Linked DNA regions of Homo sapiens: region 2 is linked to region 1. The links are contacts of gene promoters, found by promoter capture Hi-C in blood cells and fetal thymus (Javierre and others, 2016). All regions are on one chromosome and are shown on one strand. Each heading gives the region's core, a stretch centred on a gene start or on the middle of the fragment in contact. The rest is flanking DNA. Distances are from core to core; before and after follow the strand shown. Region 1 holds the start of SLC28A2 (solute carrier family 28 member 2). Region 2 has its middle 9.4 kb from the start of GATM.

Region 1 (4,316 bases), core at 1,817-4,316:
CAAAACTACATGTGGACAGCCGGTTCTTTCTTCTTTTTTTTTTTTCAAGACGGTCTCACTCTGTCCCCTAGGCTGGAGTACAGTGGCACGATCATGGCTCACTGCAGCCTTAACCTCCTGGGCTCAAGTGATCCTCCCACCTCGGCCTCCTGGAATAGCTGGGACTACAGGCACGCACCACCATGCCCTGCTAATTTTTAAAAATTTTTGTAGAGGCAGGTCTCACTATGTTGCTCAGGCTGGTCTTGAATTCCTGGGCTCAAGTGATCCTCTCACCTCAGCCTCACGAAGTGCTGGGATTACAGGCATGAGCCACTAGCCCGGTGGAGAGTCAATTCTTAAACATTTACTAGCATACCACTGTTCAAATATAGACACAAGCAATGTGACTCACATGATTAACGGCCACACTGCTAAGTAAAATATGAAATATCATGTAAGCATGAAAAACTTACAAAGAATTTACTGTCAATTCAGTATATATAAAACATGATAATATAAAAATTTTTAGAGAGAAGCAAATTGTGAATAAAACAATTAAAAATTTTAAGAAGTCACTGAGGTAACTTTCAAAAATAAAGAGAAGAAAATATAAAAATAACCTTTTGTTTGGAAGCTGCTCTGAATCATCTCCATATATAGTCATGTGTTACTTAACAACAGGGATACATTCTGATAAATTCAACATTAGTCAATTTCATAATTATGCTAACATCTTACAGTGTACTTATGCAAACCTAGATGGTATAGCTTACGACACATCCAAGCTATATGGTGGATCCTATTATTCTTAGGCTGCAAATCTGTTCAGCATGTTTCTGTACTTAATACTGTAGGCAACTATAGCACAATGGTAAGTATTTGTGTATCTAAACATATCTAAACATAGAAAAGGCACAGTAAAAATACAGTATTATAATTTTATGGGACCACCGTTGTGTAATGATATACACCGTTGATATACATGATTATACACCATTGTATAATGCGGTCCATCATTGACTGAAACATCATTATGTAGCTCATGACCGTATTCCCTTTAGAAGCTATCCAATGTCCTCTTCTCAGCTTTTAGTGTATGACTTCTGCACTCTTTTATAAATACCCACTGTTTTCCAGACCATGGAACATTGCTTCTTTCCATATGATCTATTTTACTCAAACAATTTTCTTTGACATTACTTCTGGGACCAGATCCACAAACAAATTCAAAGATTTTTCTCACTCCTCCTTCCTAGACCCCTGTTCACATAGCACTGTGGACTGTACCTTCTTCATTCTTGAGACTCTTCTCTTTTGACTTCTAAGATCTTTTTTACTGTCTTTATTATCCTTATAATAAGTCCTTCTGTGTTTTCTCCCCAGGTTTCCCTTCCTCTCCACCATTCCCAAATCTGAGTATTCCAGAAGAGCTACTGTTTTTTTAATGATATGGTAAATTAATTTCTAAAGGGATTAAAATGAATACCTACCTGTTGTAATGAAAATAAATGTATAACATAAAGCAATCTGCAAAATAGTAAGTATACACTCAAAATCTGTTAGCCATTATTACCATTGTTATTATTTTTATTTTCAGTCCAACCAACACTGATACTGCTGAACTCCTTTTTTTTTATGGAGTTTATGGCACATGTTTAAGTTAATTAATTATGTAAGATACATATATATATGTACACATGGTAAGGTGGAGCGGTTGTGATAATACCACAAGCTGCCTGAAGGGGCAGCCCACCCTAGATCCTTTCCTAACTGAACAAGATTCCAAAACACCAGTACCTCTGGTAAGTGGAAGGGCCCAGTCCATCCCCCAGGCTGTGTCCTTGTGCGTCAGTCCTCTTGCTTCCCTCAGGCTCTACTTCTTTTTCCTACAAGCACAGAGAGCATTGGGATCAGTCATGGAGCCCTGCCAGGGATGATGGGGATTGAGAGCAGCCAAATACCCTACAGGAGCCCATGCAGCAGCCCACAGCTCTGCAGAGAGAAACTAAACTGGTGATTACCATGAGCTCCAGCCCCGGGTTCACTGTGCCAGTCTCCACTGTGGACAGAGCAATGGACTGTCTTCCACTTGCTTTCTCCATCTCCTGTTCTCCTCAACTGAAAAACAAATTCAGGGCCAAGCCTGAAAGATTGGTCATTCTGTTCTGTGGGGATGGGGAGAATTTTTAGGACCAGTTACCCATGGAAAACGCAAAACTAAAAGTCTTTGAAGGCTTAGTTGATTTCTTTAAGAACTGAGAATTGAGAAGATTGGATGTGTAATTTTTATATAATAAATAATGAAAAATAAAATCCTATTTCCTCTTGTGAATAGCTAAAGAAGAGGCAGTAAGATAGGAGAAGAGAAATGAAAGGCAGTGGAATTGAAATGAATCAGTGGGCCGCCCAGGGCCCCAGGATCTGGGCTATAAAGGTTCCTACTTGGACCCTCAAAGAAAGAGTCACAGGGTAACTACTCCTTTTAGCCCCAGGGAGGCCCCACTGAGCTTGCTGAGTAAGAAGGAAACAGGGAGGAAGGCAGTTGGGAAGACCCGGACCCTAAAGTATTGCTGAACAGATAACAATTTACAGGCCTTCAAATTCCTGACTATAATGTAGCATAAGAATTGGTTTTTTATGCCCCAGAGAGAACTCATCAGTGAAATTAACAAAACTTACATTTAAAATAATTAGTATGAATGTTAATGATCCCAAGTAAAGTTTTTAAACAAAATAAGCAAACATTTGGGCCTCAGAATAAGCAAATTTAATACATGGACATTCACAATTAGAATATAAGTTCATTCTGAGATATTTATTTACTTTGCAGAAAATTCCCTTCCCCATGGAATTGCTTTTGAAAATGTGATCTCTTCAAGCATTTGAAGTATAATTTCATTAAACACACATAACCAACTTATATTGTGTAAATTAGGGCCTTCCTGACTAGGCACAAAACTACCTGCATTTAGTTTAAATATGATCTCTTTAAAAATTTGTAAATTAGGCACCTGCCCTCCCCCAAACACCTTTACTTACCCCAGCTTGTGGAATTGATTCCCTCTGGCTCCTCAGTGAAGGACTGAAAGAAAAGCTCAGCTGCGAGGGAGGAGGGGCAGCTTGGGTGGGGCATGGGGGCTTTCCTGCCATTGGTTAGTTTTATGTCTTGGGCCCTCCTTCGCTGAGCCTGCCCTCAATGTAGAGGAGGACTGCACCTCTCAAGTTAAATATTATATGTTTTTAAGACTGTTTTGCAGGCCTAAGACTTATGCAGAGGTGGCGCCCGCCCGTAATCCCAGCACTTCGGGAGGCCGAGACGGGCGGATCGCTTGAGACCAGCCAGGATAACATGGCGAAACCACATCTCTACAACAAATACAAAAATTAGCTGGGCGCGGTGGCACACGACTGTGGTTCCAGTTACTCGGCAGGCGGAGGTGGAAGGATCCCTTGAGCCTCTGGAGGTGGAGGTTGCAGTGAGCTGTGATTGCGCCACTGCACTCCAGCCTGGGCGACAGAGTGAGACCCTGTCAGAAAACAAAACAAAACAAAAGAATTCTGTAAGAACTTCTAACAGGTACATTCCTGTAAGCATTACCCACCACTGGACTAGGCACTGGGTAGCCTGTAAAATACAGTAAGAGCCGTCTCTGCACCCAGAAAATTTACCATCATTTTGTGCTGGAAAGACATGCCCTAGAAAACAATAAACAGCACGACTGTACATGATTCCATGCCAAATGACTGCTAGGAATTATTTTATTAATCCATTCAACAAATACTTATTGAGTAACCACTATTAGCCAGCCACCGTTTTCCGTGTGAGGACATAAAAATGAGTGAGACAAGGTCTCTGCCATCAAAAAACGAACAGATCAGTGAGGAAAGACGGATGTGTCAAGAAAGGCTTTGCAGGTCGAGCGCGGTGAATCACGCTTGTAATCCCAGCACACTGGGAGGCAGAGGCAGGCGGATCATTTGAGGTCAGGCGCTCGAGACCACCCTGGCCAACATGGCGAAACTCCATCTCTACTAAAAATACAAAAATTATCCGGGCATGGTGGTGCAGGCTTGTAATCTCAGCTACTCAGGAGGCTGAGGCAGGAGAATCATTTGAACCCAGGAGGCAGAGGTTGCAGTGAGCCATGATCATGCCACTGCACTCCAGCCTGGGTGAGCGAGACTCCATCTCAAAAAAAAAAAAAAAAAAAAAAAAGAGGGAGAGAAAGACTTTACAGAGCTGGTAACACTTATCCTGGCCTGGAAAGAAAGAAAGAAAGCTTCCTATGACGCCCTCTGGATAAAACTTAGGACCCCTCCCTGCACTCTGATTG
Region 2 (4,316 bases), core at 839-3,338, 140 kb before region 1:
CCAGCACTTTGGGAGGCTGTGGCAGGCGGATCGCTTGAGCCCGGGAGTTTGAGACCAGCCTGACCAACATGGCAAAGCCCTGTCTCCACTAAAAACGCAAAAATTAGATGGGTGTGTGCCTGTAGTCCCAGCTATTCGGGAGGCAGGGGCACAAGAATTGCTTGAACCTGGGAGGTGGAGGTTGCAGTGAGCTGAGATCACGCCACTGCACTCCATCCTGGGCAACAGTGTGAGACTCTGTCTCCAAAAAAAAAGAAAAAGAAAAAGAAAAAAGAAAAAAAGAAATGCAAAATCTTAGGCCTGAATCAGAATTTGCCTTTTAACAAGCTCCCCAAGTGATTCCTATGTGCATCCCTGGATGCCTTTGTAAGAATACCTATTGCTTCTTTCTAGTCTAGAAGTGAGGCTGAGACTTTCTGTACCACTACTCCAAGATACAAACCTTAAGTTAAAAACAAGAAGTCAGCCTGAGCAACATGGCAAAAACCCATCTCTGCAAAAAATACACAAATTACCTGGGCATGGTGGCATGCACCTGCTGTCCCAGCTATTCAGGTGACTGAGGTGGGAGGATCACTTCAGCCTGGGAGGTGGAGCTTGCAGTGAGCCCAGATTGTGCCACTGCACTTCAGCCTGGGCAACAGAGCAAGACTTTGTCTAAAAAACAAAACAAAACAAAAAACCCTGCAAAAACAAGAAGTCTTTGATTATTTGGGAGCATAGCTTCATTAATTTTGTTGGATAGTTATCAAACCATAGAAACTTGGATTGGAAGAAACCTTAGAGGTCATCAAGTTCAACCGTCATCACTGCTGTGAATTTCAGTATAATGACCAATTTTTGTAAAAAGGTTAAATTGTGTTCAGGATATTCTGTTCAAGAAGATGAAAAGTATTTAATTCATCTTAGAAAGGCAGCCATACAAATGGGAGAAGTTTATATATTTAAAAACTTTTAGTGTTAAAGGAAAAAGCTTCAGTTGTCTGGAAAGTTTATTGATATGAAATGTGTTGGCCATGATGATATCCCCTAAGGAGGGCTTTATCTTTTAAACTCATATTCCAACTATTTTATATCTGCCAAACGTTACTGTCTTGCACAATTATAACTTTAACTTCCTCCAACTAAGAAAATTATTACTTATCAAACTAAATTTTCCATAAGGAGAGGAAAAGAGATAAATCTTCCTTGCAGAAGAATTCCAAGCAATATATGTATGTAAACCCCTCTTCCTTTCCAGGGGAGTTGGTCTCGGAGACTCAATTCCAAAGAATAAAGTATGAAAAGGAAAAAACACCAACCAACTTTACAGAGGAAAAACCCGGCAGACACTACCTTAAGCAAATGACAGGGTTAATACCATCAGTGATATGAGAATATTACATACTACCTGATACGATACGATGAAAAGGGCACATCATCTCGGTAGTATTCTTTCCAGAACTCCATAATGCCAGTCCAATCATGAGAAATACATAAACCCAGTTCAAAGCATAGACTACAAAATATCTGATTAGTTTTCCTCAAAACTGACGAAGTCCTGAAAAACCAAAGAAAGACTAAGATACTGTCAGAGAGCAGAGGCAATCACAGAAGACATTACAACGAAATATAGTGTGGTATCCTGGATTGGATATTGGAACAGAAAAAGAATGTTAGTGGAAAAACTGGTAAGATCCAAGTAAAGTCTGGAGTTTAGTTAATAATGATTTACAGTGTTGGTAGCTTAGTTTTAGCAAATGTATCTTAGCTGTGGAAGACAATAACAGGGTAAACCAAAACAGGGCGATGGGTGTACAGGAACTCTGTACTATCTTTGTAACTTTTCTGTAAATCCAAAAACAGATAGAAAACAAAATTTCCCACAAACTCATGAAAATTATTTTAACATATTAAAGTACAGACAGACTTCCACAAGTTTAGAAGGCTGACTTGTGCAGAATACCTACTTAAGATATCCACACTTAATCAGTCTGGTATAGTACCTCACGCCTGTAATCTCAGCACTCTGGGGGGCTGACTGAGGCAGGAGGAGCACTTGAGCCCAGGAGTTCAAGACCAGCCTGGGCAACATAGCAAGATTCTGTCTTTAATTTTTTAAAAATTAATATAATCACACTTAAAGCCCTTCTTGAGACCTATAGCACCATTTTGCTAGACTTGGAAGTTTAAGGTTTTCAGATTTGAATTCCCAGAGTATAAAATCAAAGTCTGTTTTCCAAAAGTTCACTTAACTCTTGAAAAAAGAATTGCACTGAGAATTTATCTCAGCAGAGTGTGGTGAATTTGGATGAATCATTTAGCCTTGGGCCATGAGGTTATCCCAACTATAAAATAAGATCCCTCTTAGTTTTAAAATTCTGTAAATATGCCTCTCTCAAACATTGTAAATATTGTTTTAAAGTGAGGTACAAATTCCAAGGGAAAAAATAAAACTTTGACTAGGCAATTGATTCCACAAACATTTATTAAGTGATAATCACTGTGCTAAGTACAACAGGAGCTGTAGCCCTTGCTCTCCAGAGGTCTGGCGAAAGAGATATGTAAACAAGCTGTTACAGCCATGTATAAGTGCTCTAAAAAAAGTATTAACAAGGTGTGCTGTGGTACACAGGAAGAAGTTGCTTCATTCTTCTGGAGATGTTACAGAAGGTTTGGACATAAAAAAAAAAAAACAGGAATACCATGAAATAGTACTGTTTGATCTAATCAGAGTCAATGAGGGATTAGTCCTATACTAGTAAACATTTATCTTCATTGGCTGTTTGTAAATATCTGGGAATTACTGGATTTTCCCAGTGCTAAATTGGCTGCAGAGTCAGAAATTTGGTTGCTACAGAATTGTGCCAGAAAAGCACAAGTATCTCAAGTTGCAGATGCATTCTCTTGGGAATGTCTGAAATCTGTCCCCTGAAATGATTTAATTGCTGTCACATGAACAACATAACTTTCCAGAAAAGGCAGTGTGTTGGCTGACATAGTCTGTCATTACTAAATCAAGCCTTCATAAAAACCTCATGCCTCACAGGTCATTCCATTTCCATCTTATAGCTGAATATTTCTAGTTTAGCCTTTGCAATATATAGTCTTATATGGTCTTCGTATTCAGTTTTGCTTTTAAATTCTGAATAGCATGGTAAACAGTAATTTAGAGTTCCTAAGCAAAAGTTCAATATTGGACCCTACTTTGATTCTAAGCTTGCAAATTCTGAATAATTCTATTTGAACAGACCTTTCTTTAGCAGGGAGAACGTGACTATGGAGGACGTTTTGTCACTTAAATGACCATAAGTGGAGGAGATGAGTGCTTCCTCCTGGGATGTTGCCCAAGACAAGTAAGAATATTCGAGAGGGATGCAGAAAACTGGCTAATGTTACTTCTTCAATTCCCAGGGCCCAGCTAGAGAAGTGCCTTTTGCTGGGAATGATAATTCTGGAAAATTCCCTACCAGCAACAAGCGAGACAGACAGGAGCGAAATAGCAAGCACAGACTGAGAACTGGGCAAAGTGCACAACAGAGAGATAGGCAGAAGTGTCTTCCCACGCTAATCTCCCTGTTCTGCCAGATCACAGCGTGTATGGACATGAGAGGAGCCAGGTGGCTGTGGGAGGTTTTCTCCCAGAGCAGTATCTACAGTTTTCTTAGGGCAGAGCTGCAAGGGAAAATATCTGTGACAACAAGAGTTGTTTCTAAGCAGACACAGGGCCTTTTGCTTCTAAAAATAATAGCGATTAGGGTTTTTTTCTGATTATAAATGTAGCAAAGTCTCATAGAGAAAGGTATACAAATTGCAGAAAAGCAGAAAGAAGAATATAAAGGTTACCCATTACATCTCCACGCAAAGATTGTCACTATTTAAATTTTGGTAAATTTCTTTCCAGAATTTTATGTGCATACATATGTTCAACATGGTTCAGAGAATACTGTACATACAATTTCATATTCGGTTATTTTTCAGTTAATATTGTGAGGAAGCCAGAGATCACTTCCAACCCCACTTTTAGCTCTTAGTGGGCTTTTTAGCTGGATGTAGAGGCCAAATTGAGAGCAGGCAGATTAACAAGAGAAAAGCGTACAAATTTTATTACTTTTACATGTACATAAGGATCTCCACAGGAAAGTGAAGTGTGAAGAAGTAGTCAAAGCAAGATGCTTTTATACTTTTTTAGACAAGGAACAATAAATTTGAGTAGAAATGACAGGACAAAGACAATCTGGCTAGGGACAGTGAATTTTCTAGAGGAGTCACTAGGAGATATATGGTGGGGTATAAAACTGGTGAAAGATAAGAGTTACTTCATTAAGTATGTTTGT

What was found. The method cuts DNA at HindIII sites, captures the fragments that hold promoters and counts their contacts. A CHiCAGO score of 5 or more calls a contact.
Region 2: a fragment that was not itself captured here is called in contact with the fragment with the promoter of SLC28A2 in region 1 in 4 of 17 cell types (M2 macrophages, M1 macrophages, naive B cells and 1 more); the score reaches 6.6 in M2 macrophages.

The regions. Positions count from the first base shown.
Region 1 is chr15:45,250,984-45,255,299 of GRCh38, reverse strand. It overlaps SLC28A2 (solute carrier family 28 member 2), which reads right to left and starts at 3,066. Exons shown (of 18, transcript NM_004212.4): 1 at 3,022-3,066; 2 at 2,004-2,100; 3 at 1,780-1,868. The coding sequence starts at 2,084. It overlaps SLC28A2-AS1 (SLC28A2 antisense RNA 1), which reads left to right. Exons shown (of 5, transcript NR_120335.1): 4 at 1,366-1,434; 5 at 3,228-3,719. The HindIII fragment of the contact is 6,298 bases long and covers 1-4,264 here.
Region 2 is chr15:45,385,806-45,390,121 of GRCh38, reverse strand. It overlaps a transcript of GATM not described here. Among named protein-coding and RNA genes, the nearest start is that of GATM, 9.4 kb to the right of the region's middle. The HindIII fragment of the contact is 2,225 bases long and covers 976-3,200 here.